Regions from separate parts of the Homo sapiens genome. Here regions 1, 2, 4 and 5 are each linked to region 3. Evidence: promoter capture Hi-C in 16 types of primary human blood cells and fetal thymus (Javierre and others, 2016). All regions are on one chromosome and are shown on one strand. Each heading gives the region's core, a stretch centred on a gene start or on the middle of the fragment in contact. The rest is flanking DNA. Distances are from core to core; before and after follow the strand shown. Region 1 overlaps SFT2D2 (SFT2 domain containing 2). Region 2 overlaps CACYBP (calcyclin binding protein). Region 3 holds the start of METTL13 (methyltransferase 13, eEF1A N-terminus and K55). Region 4 overlaps DCAF6 (DDB1 and CUL4 associated factor 6). Region 5 holds the start of COP1 (COP1 E3 ubiquitin ligase).

Region 1 (2,700 bases), core at 112-2,611, 3.5 Mb before region 3:
GCTGTAGGTTCATGGTCCTTTCAAGCCTATACGACCTCAGAGTGAGAGGGGTGGTGGCATAGTTGGAATCTGTAGGTTCCAAGACATTTCTGTAGTTCTTTCAAAGTTTATCAAGGGATGGTATCTGCCAGAACAGTTTCAGTATAGATGTGACTCACCTATTTTTGAAAAAAATGTTTGCTACAGTGTAAAGAAAGGAGGATTGTGGACATTTTAAAGTTCTGAAGAATTGGTTAACTCCTATTTGGTAGAAATGAATCTTGAGACTGTAAGCTTAACTCCCATCCCTCCCTTTAGCAATTTTGGACTTTTGAATAAATATAGTTACAAATTGCCTTTTGGAATTTACTGTGTTGACAAGTAATTGAGCTTCTGTACATGTTAAGTATAAGATATGGAGAAGGATGCTGGTGTTTGTGTTTATGTGTGTGTGTGTGTGTATGTTTTTTTTTTTTTTAAATGACATGCACATTTGAGTGGTAGACTGTTTATATTTTGATTTTTCTTCCAGGGCAGAAATTGGTACCTATATACACACACCTTGCTTTGCTTATAGACTGATTTTGAATCCAGTTTCAGAGGTTCAGCATTCATATGGGTCCAGCTGAATGGTGATATTCCCTTCAACACTCATGTGTTCTGACTGTGTTTGCTTTTCTAAGGGCTAACTTACAGTCTGCCTGACACACAGTGCCTGGTTCTTTAGCATTATGGAGCCTGTTCCTTGTATATGGTTTCCTTCTAAGTGACAGGGCTGAGCTAACTGGAATTTACCAAGATACCTTTGGACGTACTACATTTTCACTCATAGAGTAGTTGGTAGCATTTTTTTCTTCTTCTTTTTTATTCTCTTTTCTCTTCTTTTAAAATTAATAGGAGCAGAGCAGAAAATTTATCCCAATTAGGTAGAAGTTAAATTCTGTTTAGAATTTATAAAATGTTAGGAGTTCAACTGTGCCAGGTATGGGTGGCTCACACTGTAATGCCAAGACTTTGGGAGGCTGAGGTGGGAGGATTGCTTGAAGCCAGGAGTTTGAGACTAGCCTGGACAGTGTAGCAAGACCGGGTCTCTGCAAAAAAACAAACAAACAAACAAAAAAAAACATTAAAAAATTAGCCGGGCATGGTGGCACATACTTGTAGTCCCAGCAATTCTGGAGGCTGAGGCAGGGGGATTGCTTGAGCTTCCTAGACTTGAGCCTAGAAATTCAAGGCTGCAGTGAGCTATGATTGAGCCACTATATTCCAGCAGCCTAGGTGACGAGCACGACCCTGTCTCAAAAAAAAAAATAAATAAATAAATAAAGGAGGGGGGTGCGGTTCAACTGTTCTGGGTTTTATTTGATATTTTTTCAGAATAGAGTTTCTGTGCCATCTGGGTATTTGAAATCTGACTGTTTAAGGTGATTGTTGCTAGTTCAAGGTTATAGCAGTACTGCATTGAGGCCGAGGTCATACGGGTTATCTCCACATGAACCTTTTGCCCTTCTTCTGTGGCTGCCTATCTGTACATGGCCATAGTGTGTGTGTTTGGGTACACGTGCATGCACATGCGTGGGCCTTTGTGTGCACATGCTCATCCCCCAGGCTGAGTATGGGAGAGGGTCTGGATAGATCACTGCAGGTATTCTTACAGCTCAGAAGCCCATTCTGCTGGATAATCTGCTACTCCCTTCATCTCATTTGACCCTTTGTTTTGTTTTTCATTATAGGTACAGCCTTTCCTTCATACCATTTGCAAGGTAAGACTGTGTATTTGGAAATAATGATTTCTGTCATTTTAATTCAGAGTCTGCTTTCAGAGAGTATAGCCTATTTTATTTATCTTTACTGAAGTCTTTTGAGTCAAGTAGACAAATACTATACATCTCATTTATAGATAAGTAAGTTAAAGGTCACCCCACCACCCACTCTAATTATACAACTAATGATGGATATTTACCCAGGTACACTGATTTCCAATGCTGTGAACATTCTACTCTTATATATGGTGCATATATGCACATTATTACTCTTTTAACCCGTAGCTTTGAGTAGGGTTTTTTTTTTTTTTTTTTTTATAAAGGTGAATGTCATTTCATATCACTGAGTAAGATATGGAGGGATCTCAATTCGTGCTTCTTGCAGTATCCCACTGCTGGGAAGGTTTCACAAGAGTTTATAAAGGGAGAGTAAGCAGTACCAGGGCTTCCTAATTAGCAGTGTGACCTCGAGCAGCTCTCTTGACCCCTCTGGCCTCAAAGCATCGATAAGTAGACTGAGTTGGTCTAGATCATCTCCAGAGGCCTCTTTTAGCTCTGAAATTCTAATACTCCATACCTCTTTAAGCACTTTCAGTGACGGACCTCTCAAAATTAGCCGCATGATCTTTGCCTCTGACTTTGTTCTAATGCAACTATTTAACTTCTGTTCTTTTTTTTTTTTTTTTATCATTACCTGTTAATTAAAAACAAGCTTTTTAAAAAAACTGTACTGGGCCAGGTGCAGTGGCTCACGCCTGTAATCCCAGCACTTTGGGAGGCCGAGGCGGGTGGATCCTGCTGTCAGGAGATCGAGACCATCCTGGCTAACACAGTGAAACCCCGTCTCTACTGAAAATACAAAATATTAGCTGGGCGTGGTGGCAGGCGCCTGTAGTCGAAGCTACTTGGGAGGCTGAGGCAGGAGAATGGCGTGAACCCAGGAGGCGGAGCTTGCAGT
Region 2 (2,700 bases), core at 188-2,687, 3.2 Mb after region 3:
GTATTGCTCATTTCCTGGCGTAAGTGGGAGGTGAAGACGGGACAGTTATTCACAGTTAAGTGTTGGGTGTGTATTAACTAGATTTGCTTTATGAAAACAAGTACTGGGGAGTCCCAAGCTTTTGTTTTGTTTTGTTTTTGTTTTTTAAACTCAAAATCTTTTCTTTAAATGAAGAAAAACTATGAGGTTTGTGTGTTCCAGTATTAATCTGGGTATCTTGTGACAAGTCTTTTAAGGTAGGTCTTGGGTACTATGTGCCCCTAGGAGATAACTTCACAGTCTTGCAGGTGGATAGCTCAGTGTTAGTCCTCTTGAAAGTAGAGATCGTTCTCAGTTTAGGCACTTAGAAATATACATTTGAGGGCACTTGATTTTTGTTTTGTTTGAGATAAAATTCAAGTTTTTAACCATTTTAAAGTGTACAATTCAGGTATTTGTTTTTTGTTTAAATATATTCACAGTGTAGTGCAGCCATCACCACTGTCTAGTTTCAGGACATTTTCATCACTCCAGAAAGAAACCATGTAGTGTGTTTTAAACAATTGCTTCCCATTCCTCCCTCAGCCCCTGACAACTACTCATCTTGTACTTTCTGTGAATTTGCCTATTGTAGGCATTTCATATAAATGGAGTCACGCTGTATGTGGCCTTTTGTTTTTTGGCTCCTTCAACTTAGCACTAACATTTTCAAGTTCATCCATGGTGTAGCGTGTATCAGTACACATGCTCTTTATGGCTAAATAATATTCTATTATATGCATGTGGCACATTGTGTTTATCCTTTCATCCGTTTATGGACATTTATTTCCACTTCTTTGTTTGAGACGGAGTCTCGCTCTGTCGCCCAGGCTGGAGTGCAATGGCGCAATCTCGGCTCACTGCAATCTCCGTCTCCCGGGTTCAAAGGATTCTCCTGCCTTAGCCTCCTGAGAAGCTGGGATTACAGGCGCGCGCCACCATGCCCGGCTAATTTTTGTATTTTTAGTAGCGACGGGGTTTCACCACGTTGGCCAGGCTGGTCTCGAACTCCTGATCTCAAGTGATCCGCCCGCCCGCCTCGGCCTCTGAAAGTGCTGGGATTACAGGTGTGAGCCATGGCGCCTGGCCTTATTTCCACTTCGTGACTAGCATAAATAATGCTGCTGCGAGTACTGTATCCAAGTTTTTTGTGTGGATGTGTTTTCAGTTCTCTGGGGTATATACCTAGGAGTGGAATTACTGGTTCATATGGTAACTTTCTGAGAAACTGTTAGACTGTTTCCAGAGTGGTTGCATCATATTCCTGTAAGAAATGTTTGAAGCTTCTGAAAGTTTCTCCACATCATTATCAACATTTGTTATTTTCTGGGGTGTTTTATTTTTCTTTTTCGGTTTATGATACCATCCTACTGGGTGTGAAGTGGCATCTTGGGAATTTGATATGCGTTTACCCAATGATGAAGATGTTGAGCATCTTTAATGTTCTTGGTGTCCATTTCTGTGTCTTTGGAGAAATGTGTGTTGAATTCCTTTGCCCATTTTTGAGGCACATTGGTGTTAATGCCTCCTAGTGAAAAATTAGGAAATAGGAAGATAAAGCTTGAATGCCTTATGGGTAGGGATAAAAGAGAAATAAAATTTTTATATACGTAAAACAAACACATGCCAAGAAGGCAAGGAAAATTACATGATAAATTAGATAGGAAACTAGGACATCTTAAAGTATTTGTGCAGAAAAAGCATCAAAGGAATCACCTTTGTTGGTTTCAAGTCTGCCAATAACAGAACTGAGGAACTGTCTCAGTTTTAAGTTTTTTCAGTGGATACTTCATAATAAAAAGAGTACTTTAGAGTCAAAACTGGCAATAAAGAGGGCTTGGGAATTCAGCCATTGGGGGAATCCCTTGCCTAATTCGAAGTACCTTTCTCATTCTGCTAGATAAAGTATTCCTATTTCAGTCAAAAAGCAAAACCTCTTGCTTAGACTTAATATATTTCATTTTACATTTCAATATTTTTATTATGAATTAGGAGTTGTAGAATCAGCGTTTTTTTGAAACCATTACAATAAAAATATTACTTTGAACTGAAACATTTTGGTTCTATGCTCAAAAGATGAGTTTGCAAGATTTTTTGTCATAGTAATATGAGCTGTTCTTGGAAGGGTCGAGAGTGTGGACAAGAGGGTTGGGCAGAGTTGATTTTTTTTTTTTTTTGGGAGACCGAGTTTTGCTCTTGTTGCCCGGGCTGGAGTGCAATGGCGCGATCTCGGGTCACTGCAACCTTTGCCTCCCGGGTTCAAGCGATTCTTCTGCCTCAGCTTCCCGAGTAGCTGGGATTACAGGCACGTGCCACCACACCCGGCAAATTTTTGAATTTTAAGTAGAGACGGGCTTTCGCCGTGTTGGTCATGTTGGTCTCGAACCCCTAACCTCAAGTGATCCACCCGCTTTGGCCTCCCAAAGTACTGGGATTACAGGTGTGAGCCACTGCACCTGGCCAGAGTTGAACTTTTTATACCATGTCATCTGTTATAGATAGGCAAAACTAGGGCATCTGAGTTAAATGAGATAACAAAAGACTTGTAGTAAAAGAAAAGAATTAGTTCTGTTATTGCATTTTATAAGACTATTAAGAAACAGGCTTTCAAACTCTGTTGTGCGTCTGATATTCTGAGTTATAAAGCACTAAAAGACTTTTTTAAATTGAGCTTTTGATATC
Region 3 (2,700 bases), core at 29-2,528:
TTGAGAATCACTTTTTTAAACCAATGTTTAAGTCCAATCTAACCTACTTAACTATTAACAGTCTACCTGGCTATCTACCTGTGGTAGTGTAGTATGTAACAGCCCACAGCACACATGCTCAATTCCAAGCCTATCTGCTCTCCGCAATCAGTATATTCCTCCTGCAATTTATCATGGTATGAAAGGCCCAGTGATACACATATTTGGTCATTTTCAAATAGTGCCTGCCAGCATAGTGGCTCACACCAGTCATCCCAGCACTTTGGTAGGGTGAGGCGAGATGATCATTTGAGCTCAGGAGTTTGAGAACAGCCCGGACAACATGGCGAAACCCCATTTCTACAAAAAAAAAAAAAAAATTAGCCAGCGGTAGTGGCGTGCTACTTGGGAGGCTGAGGTGGGAGGATCCCCTGACCCCTGGAAAGTGGAGACTGCAGTGAGCCATGACTGCACCACTGCACTCCAGTCTGGGCGACAGAGACAGACCCTGTCTGAAAAAAAAGTGCCCTTCACAGAAGCTTCCTCAGGGTATTAGCATGAGCATGTGAAAGTACAGTATGTTTATCAAACACATAAAATAAGCAGTTATAAATAACGTCAGAATAACACAAGGAGGCCAATTATCAAAATGAAAGGCTAGTTTTGCATGCTGTGCTTTGCGGAGAGAAGGAAGAGGGAGTTTTCATGTTATTACACTTTTGATAGCAGAATCCTATATTTTGGTGCAGAGGTGGCAAAATAAGGCGGGGGGTGCTGGTGCGCAGAAGCTGACAAGGTTAGAATGTGCAGCGTTTTTACGACGGACTGGCTTTACTCATTTCCTGCCTCACTTCTCTCCTATCTGTATAGGTTTTTCTTTTCGTCCTCCTCTACCAGTACGCTCCCGCCTGCCGCGCTCCGCCCTTGTGCGGCGCACGATCGGAGTCAGTGATTAAGCCGGCTCCAAGACAAAGCGGAGGCCGAGCCCAGGAAGCAAGCGCGCTCTCCGCCCCGCCTGGAGGGAGGGCCCAACCACAGCACAGCCGCGCTCACTCCTCACCCGGACGTGACCTAGTTCTCACAGAGGCCCGGCCTCTTCCGCCACAACTCCGGCCCGCGGTCCCGCCCCGTTCCGTGAATGGTCGGCCGGCCTCAGGTCAAAAAAGCGTTTAGGTGTCTGCGACGGAGCCTCCGGAGAAAGGCAAGCACGTCGCAGCCAATGAGGTGATAGAAACGCAAAGCAGCGACCAATGACTAGCTGAGTTGGGCTGGGCCGGCCGACGAATCACGAGGCTTCGCACCCGGATATGGTTATGGGCTCGGAAATCTAGTTCGGGAAAAGTGTGAGGGGCTCTTCACGTGGGGAAGGAACAGCAGGCGCGGAGGAGGGGGCAAGCGTGTGTGAGATTCAGTGGTCCATGCGTGCGTTTGTCGTGTAAGGGTCATTCCTGGGGTTTGGAGTGGGGGAACAAATCAATGTGGCTGTTTTTCCGTGGAAAGAATTCCCACTGCAGTGTCCCGGAGCCTGCGTGTGGTGGGCAAGCTCCTCAAATGGTATCTCACAGGGAATAGGGGAGTCTTGAAAACGCAGCTTCGGCAGTAGGAACATGAACCTCTTACCTAAAAGTTCCAGGGAGTTTGGCTCCGTTGACTATTGGGAGAAGTTCTTCCAGCAGCGAGGAAAGAAAGCTTTCGAGTGGTATGGAACCTACCTGGAACTGTGCGGGGTGCTACATAAATATATCAAGCCCAGGGAAAAGGTGAGGAGCGCGGGTTGGTAGCCCTTCGTACGTGCTCCGGAAGGTGGGAACTGGTAACAGGAATCTTGCACTTGGTGGACAGTGACAGGCGGGAGGACCCTAGTTGGACGCATATTTCAGCATTTCCTGCATTGTTCCTGCTAAAAGACAAACTAGAATATTCTTTCAGGCCGGGCGCAGTGGCTCACACCTGTAATCCGAACACTTTGGGAGACCGAGGTGGGAGGATCGCTTGAGCCCTGGAGTTAAAGACCAGCCTGGGGAACATGAGACCTCGTCTCTACAAAAAATGAAAAAATTAGCCGGGCGTGGTGGCGCGCATCTGTATTTCCAGCTACTCGGGAGGCTTAGGCGGGAGGATCGCTTGAGCCCAGGAGGTCGAGGCTGCAGTGAGCCATGATCACGCCACTGCACTCCAGCCTGGGTGACAGAGTGAGACCCTGTCTAAAAAAAAAAACATTTCTTTAAAGGTTTTCAGATAATAGACCTCCCACCCCAGCTCATTCTTGGATTAATAACCCTACTTGAAGAGTGACTTCCCATCTTGAAAGTATGTTCTTCTGTCACTGTGCATTCCTGTGCAACCTGCAGCAGGTGTGACTTTGTGTATGAATTTGTTTTTCAAATAGTCGTTGAGTGCGCCCCAAGTTTCAGGCACTGCTCAGTCCTTAAACTATAAGAGCATTAAGACGTAAACCCTGCACATGTTCCAGAAGTGAAACGTGATAAGTACAACAATGGGTTTGGTATAGGTGAGATTGTACTGGAGGTAGGGAAGGAGGAAGGTAGAAAACTTAACATTTGTGGGGAAGCTTTATGTGCCAAGCCTTATGTTGGGTGCTGTGTATGTGCATGTGCAATCTTTGAATTCTCATCATAAATTCAGGTGAGTGGCCATGCATACATTTTACAGATGAGGAAACTGAGGCCCCGAGAGCCACTTTTTTTTTTTTTTTTGCCC
Region 4 (2,700 bases), core at 45-2,544, 3.8 Mb before region 3:
TTACAACCAACAGTTCTGGTTTGTAAATTATTTAAGAAAAGTTAGCATGCAATTTTTTAATTCTTTTTAGTGTCTCAAGTAAAATACGAATACATTTTGTTTATAAAAACTCAATAAAAATGAAGCAAAAATCCCTTTGATCCCTCCCATTCAATTTCACTCCGCCACCCTTAGAAATAATATTTTCTGTTTTCTGAATATTCTTCCAGACCTTTTTGTTTGCATTCTTACAAGTACATATGTACATGTACAAATGCTGGGGTGTGTGTGTGTTTGTGTGTGTATGAGAGAGACACCTGAGTGCATGGTGTCATATTGTAAACATTGTTTTCACTTCTCCACATTTTGGAGATCTTTCCATGGCAGTAAAAATAGATTGATTCTGTCTTTTAAATTATTACATAGTAGGTAACATTATGAAGTACCATAGGGTACTCAACCTTTCTTCTTTAAGTAGACGTTCGCCCTTACAGCATTTTAATGAACATCATTCTACAAGCTTCTGTGCATTTGTTGTAGGATAAGTACCTAGAGTGGTGATTAATCATTTTAAAATTGAACATAGCTGGAGTCTGGTTTTTAAAACTATTTACCAAAAAAAGTGTGCAGTATTTCTTTTAGAATTTATTTGCGGAGAAAGAACTTAATTTTAGCTTAATAAAACAAACGTTAACATTGTTTTGCATGGATACATTTATAATTTGGTCCTTTATCTCAGTTGGACAGTTTAAGTACTTGTATATAGTTCTATATTTTAGTGTTTTCTTTTGGTTCAGTTACTTCAGCTATATCTACAAACGAGTTAATTAAAATATAACAAAACCATATACCTGCTTTTCCCCCTCCTACTCCAACTCCCTAATGGAAATGGAATTTGTGTATTGGGTCTAGGGGAATTGAAGGGTTCACTGACTATATTAGAAAGCCTGAATTACAGTTTTTCAAATGTGTATGTATACATACAGGGAGTTCTTTATCTTAAATAATATTTTAGATATGATAATATATACTCTTAAAATAGGACATTTTTGGAATGACTTCCTTTAAAAGTGGTTTTCTAAGTACTTGAAAATACTTTTTGAAAGTATCGAAACTTGAAAATGTTTGCAAAGAACTAATTTATTGGCCTTTACCCTTAGTAGACCTTTACACTGTTATTCAGCTCTTCTATACTACAGTGCTAATCCTGGCTTTGCATTCAGGAAGCAGCAAAATCCACATTGGTAATGTTTGAATTAGTGATGGTTTTTTTTAAAAAATGACTTTCCCTCCCAGTTTTATTGGGGTATAATTGACAATTAAAAATTGTTATATTTAAGGTGTAGGACTTGATAACTTCATATACAATCAAGTTAATTAACATATCCATCATGTCACATAATTACCATCTTTTTTTGTGTGTGGCGATAAAATGACTTTATCATTATTATTAATTTTATTTTTATTATTAGATAAAATGACTTTTTAAAGTACAGTACTCTTGGCCGGGCGCGGTGGCTTACGCCTGGAATCCCAGCACTTTGGGAGGCCAAGGTGGGTGATCACTTGAGGTCAGGAGTTTGAGACCGGCCTGGCCAACATGGTGAAACCCTGGTCTTTACTAAAAATACAAAAATTAGCCGGGAGTGGTGGCGTACGCCTGTAGTCTCAGCTCCTTGGGAGGCTGAGGCAGGAGAATAGCTTGAACTTGGGAAGTGGAGGTTGCAGTGAGCCAAGATTGTGCCACTGCACTCCAGCCTGGGCGACAGAGGGAAACTCTGCGTCATAAATAAATAAATAAATAAATAAAGTATGGTACACTTATAAAGCCTTCCTTTTAAAAGTCAAATTCCAAGTTAGGATTTTCCTAAGGAAATAGATTCCTTTTTTAAAAGACTTCAATATTTAAACATTACGATTGTCTATCTACAGGGTTGTAGATTTAAGTATTTTTCTGATACATTTTCATTATTTGTATTTCTACAGATTTTTTAGCAGTGAATTACTGCTAAATAGTAAAATTGGGATAGAACAAATAGATAAATTTTTCTTGTAGCCTTTACATTTCCAGTTATTTCACCATAGCATGTGCCCTTTCAATGTTAATATTCAAGCTTTGTAATTGATTTTACTTAAACTGATTAATTATCTCCTTTCTTCCCATCAAAGAAAATTATACTTCAGAAAACTTCCTATTATGTTGTGGGAATGAAGATGAATAATTTCCCAGATGTTATTTATGATTAAAAGATATGTTTACTTAGAGCTCCCAAATCCACAAGATTCACCTGGGCCAACAGAGTGTTGTTTTAGACTAGCATGGATTTAGAGGATAGGCCAGGGATTTTAATCTTTGTGAGCCCTATCTAAATTTCAATGTAGGATTCTTTTTTTTGGTGGGAGGCGGGGGGCAGGGTGAGGCAGGGTTTTGCTCTGTCTCCCAGGCTGGTGTGCAGTGGCACCCTCATGGCTCACTGCAGCCTCCACGTCCTGGGCTCAAGGCCATCCTCCCACCTCAGCCTCCTGGAATTTTTTTTTTTTTTAAAGAATAATTATCAAAGTCAGAGATACCTGTAGGTTTAAATGTTTAAATGTAATAGTTTCTCAAATTACTGTATACTAGGTGTAGAGTAGTGCTTTTGGAAATCAGTGATTTATTAGCCACACAGATTTTATTATCCCATATATATACGGTTTTGTAAAGATAAACATTGTTAATAA
Region 5 (2,726 bases), core at 200-2,699, 4.4 Mb after region 3:
GTTATCCAGTATAGTACAGTTACATCTGACACAGGGATGTTATTTAACAAACGTGGTTCTCTCTTTTCAAGACACTTGGTGGAGAAGTGAAAAATCTGTTAACAGACTTTGACTACAGTCGTCTCAACAGCCGATTCCTAAGTGGCCCATCCTTTGAAATGGAAGAAGATATTTACACATACATACGATAGGTACTTACATTATTATAAAAAGCATGTCTTTATAAGACATCCATGCTTATGTTTACAGCATCATCTACCATACTTCAAATAAATTTTGACCAACTCCACCCCTCTGCATCCGAGGAAGCTTAGTCCTCTCCATTTGCAAATTTCATTCATCTCAACAAGGACTCCTGATTGACTGAGTGTTCAATTCATCAGAGAGGCAAAAATTTTAAGACTCAACCTCTCTGCCAACTTTGTTATCCAAAACCATTTATTTGACCTTCCACCTCTTCCCTCGTCATTCGTTAAACTCCCTTCACTTCCTCCTCAGCAACACTTACCTACCTCTTTATTATCCCCACCCTGCCTCGCTACTCCAACATTCCTTCACCCCACCAACCAGGAGCTCGAATGCCTGCAAACGCTCGATTCCCTCTGCAGACACCACCACAGCACCAGTATCCCAAGCTCTCCAACAAGCCACCCCCACACCAGACCCCCCGCCCCCAAGCCTAAGCGGCAGAAACTCATAATTTAGGGACAAGGAGGGAGTGCTCTTCAAACCCACCATACGAAGTCGTTGCTTTTGTCCTCGTAGGAGTTGATGAGCCCGTTGCAGAGGGGGGCGAGGAGAGGTCGCTTCCTGCTGCCGCTGCCTAGGCTGGAGCTGCTGCCTCCTACGCCGGCGCTGGGCCTGGCCGCGCAGCTGTGCCGGGACAGGCCCGTGGACACCGCCCCGCCGCCGCTACCCGATACGGCGGGCGCCACCAACACAGGCCGCACCGGGCCCCCGAGGCCGCCCGAGCCGGCGGCCTGGGCCACCCCGCCGGACACCAGCGCTGCCGCCGAAACCGCCACGGAAGGCGGCGACGGGGAAGAGGATAAAGACGAGGAGGCGGAAGTCACCGAGGAGGCCGCCGAGGACCCGGGGCTTGTCCCAGCGGAGCCCGACCCGGCCTGGCGGCTACCAGACATCGTGACTCCCTCCCCTCCAGCCGGGCGCTCGGAGGAGAGGGACCGCGACCTCGACCCTCCGCCGCCTCCCCTCCCCTCAGCCTCAGTGCATCCTGAGGACGCCCGCCGAGCCGGAGGTGGGGCTGAGGAACAATAAAGTTGCGTTTTTTTTTAAGGCAGCCACACAACAGCGTCCCACGGGAGGGGGCGGAGGAAACTAAAAAAGCGGAGTAGAAGGCACTACCGCTGTCGAGGCCGCCGCCGCCACCGCGGTCCCTGTAGCAGCCAACCCCGGCGCGCCGTGGCCGGCCGTGCGCGCGCGCGCGAGCGGCGGAAGAGGCGGGCGTGGCGGGGGATACAACTGGGGACGCAGCGGGGCTGCGCTCAGACGCTCAGGGCGCGCCCTCGGGGTCGGGGCTCCCTGGCGAAGGGAGTCTGTCTGTCCCAAGCCGCTTTCGTTCCAGAAAACGTGCCAGAGGGCAGGCCGTCTTAATACAGTGAAAGAATTGAGGAGACTGGAATGAATGGTATAGGTGGTGGGGTGGTTTGAAAGACGGGAACGTAGCGGGCGGAAACTCTCGAAAAGCGACTGCGCAGGCGCGCGCCGGGCGCGGACGCTCACGGGTCACCCAGGGTATCCGCCCCAAGCGGAGAATATCGGCGCAAGCGCGGAGTAGCCGTGTCACGCATGCGTGCGAACGCACCACATTCCGGAACGGGAAGAAGGAGCTGTCTCTCTCTTCTGAGGGGTAGGCAGGTGCTTCCGAATCGCGGAATGTAGGTGCTCATAAGCTGGAGACCCACGGAAAGAACCTAGAAGCTCCGAGCGGTTGCAGACAGCACTGCATTGAGCCAACGACTCCTGCTCTACTGATGGTGATTCCACAGCTTTGTGAGGAATAAGTTAAGATGAAGTCAGTGAAGTTTTCTGCGAATTGCAAACATTGTAGCAAGTGTTACCAATTTTATTAGTTCGACCACGACTTCACTCCTATATTTTGAAAAGCTGTTTGCCAAATTGAACATAACAATAATGGGAAAACAGATTTTGCTCAATCAGACCCAGCTCAGTCGGAACCTAGGTTTATTGTGGATCTGATATAATTCTAGCACAAAACAAGGAAACCTAGCATTTAATACCACCAGAAAATATACAATTTCTGGTAGGCTTTTTTAGAATATTGAAAATTGATTATAGGCGGGCGCGGTGGCTCATGCCTGTCATCGCAGCACCTTGGGAGGCCTAGGGGGTCGGATCACCTGAGCCTGGAGGTGAGGATCAGGCTGAACCTGAGGTTAGAGACCAGCCTGGGCAAGATAGCGAAACCCCGTCTCTACAAAAAGTACAAAAAATTAGCTGGGCATGGTGGCAGCAGGCCTGTAGTCCCAGCTACTCGGGAGGCTGACATGGGAGGATTGCTTGAGCTGGGGAGGTTGAGGCTGTAGGGAGCGGAGATCCCTACACTCCAGCCTGTGAGACAGAGACCCTGTCTCAAAAAAAAAAATTTTTTTCATTTGCCGCATTCTAAGGGGTGGGAGTTAGAAACAACTGTGTGATTTTATCCTTTTCAATTCTATCATTCTATGATTCTTATATATTTATTT

What was found. The method cuts DNA at HindIII sites, captures the fragments that hold promoters and counts their contacts. A CHiCAGO score of 5 or more calls a contact.
Region 1: a contact is called between a fragment that was not itself captured here and the fragment with the promoter of METTL13 in region 3, in 1 of 17 cell types (neutrophils). The highest score is 7.4, in neutrophils.
Region 2: a fragment that was not itself captured here is called in contact with the fragment with the promoter of METTL13 in region 3 in 7 of 17 cell types (naive CD4 T cells, fetal thymus, naive B cells and 4 more); the score reaches 9.9 in naive CD4 T cells.
Region 4: a fragment that was not itself captured here is called in contact with the fragment with the promoter of METTL13 in region 3 in 1 of 17 cell types (monocytes); the score reaches 5.6 in monocytes.
Region 5: a contact is called between the fragment with the promoter of COP1 here and the fragment with the promoter of METTL13 in region 3, in 7 of 17 cell types (naive B cells, non-activated CD4 T cells, total CD4 T cells and 4 more). The highest score is 13.2, in naive B cells.

The regions. Positions count from the first base shown.
Region 1 is chr1:168,237,419-168,240,118 of GRCh38, forward strand. SFT2D2 (SFT2 domain containing 2) reads left to right here. Exons shown (of 8, transcript NM_199344.3): 7 at 1,713-1,742. Among named protein-coding and RNA genes, the nearest start is that of SFT2D2, 13 kb to the left of the region's middle. The HindIII fragment of the contact is 2,181 bases long and covers 272-2,452 here.
Region 2 is chr1:175,000,939-175,003,638 of GRCh38, forward strand. The region is part of intron 1 of CACYBP (calcyclin binding protein); the gene reads left to right. Among named protein-coding and RNA genes, the nearest start is that of CACYBP, 2.3 kb to the left of the region's middle. The HindIII fragment of the contact is 277 bases long and covers 1,300-1,576 here.
Region 3 is chr1:171,780,382-171,783,081 of GRCh38, forward strand. METTL13 (methyltransferase 13, eEF1A N-terminus and K55) reads left to right here and starts at 1,279. Exons shown (of 8, transcript NM_015935.5): 1 at 1,279-1,739. The coding sequence starts at 1,587. RefSeq lists enhancers at 968-1,262, 1,092-1,625. The HindIII fragment of the contact is 1,150 bases long and covers 517-1,666 here.
Region 4 is chr1:167,937,999-167,940,698 of GRCh38, forward strand. All of the region lies in intron 1 of DCAF6 (DDB1 and CUL4 associated factor 6), which reads left to right. Among named protein-coding and RNA genes, the nearest start is that of MPC2, 2.3 kb to the left of the region's middle. The HindIII fragment of the contact is 1,594 bases long and covers 498-2,091 here.
Region 5 is chr1:176,205,837-176,208,562 of GRCh38, forward strand. COP1 (COP1 E3 ubiquitin ligase) reads right to left here and starts at 1,450. Exons shown (of 20, transcript NM_022457.7): 1 at 736-1,450. The coding sequence starts at 1,142. It overlaps COP1-DT (COP1 divergent transcript), which reads left to right and starts at 1,829. Exons shown (of 5, transcript NR_185981.1): 1 at 1,829-2,035. RefSeq lists silencers at 888-1,247, 1,278-1,487 and an enhancer at 1,988-2,057. The HindIII fragment of the contact is 7,879 bases long and covers 308-2,726 here.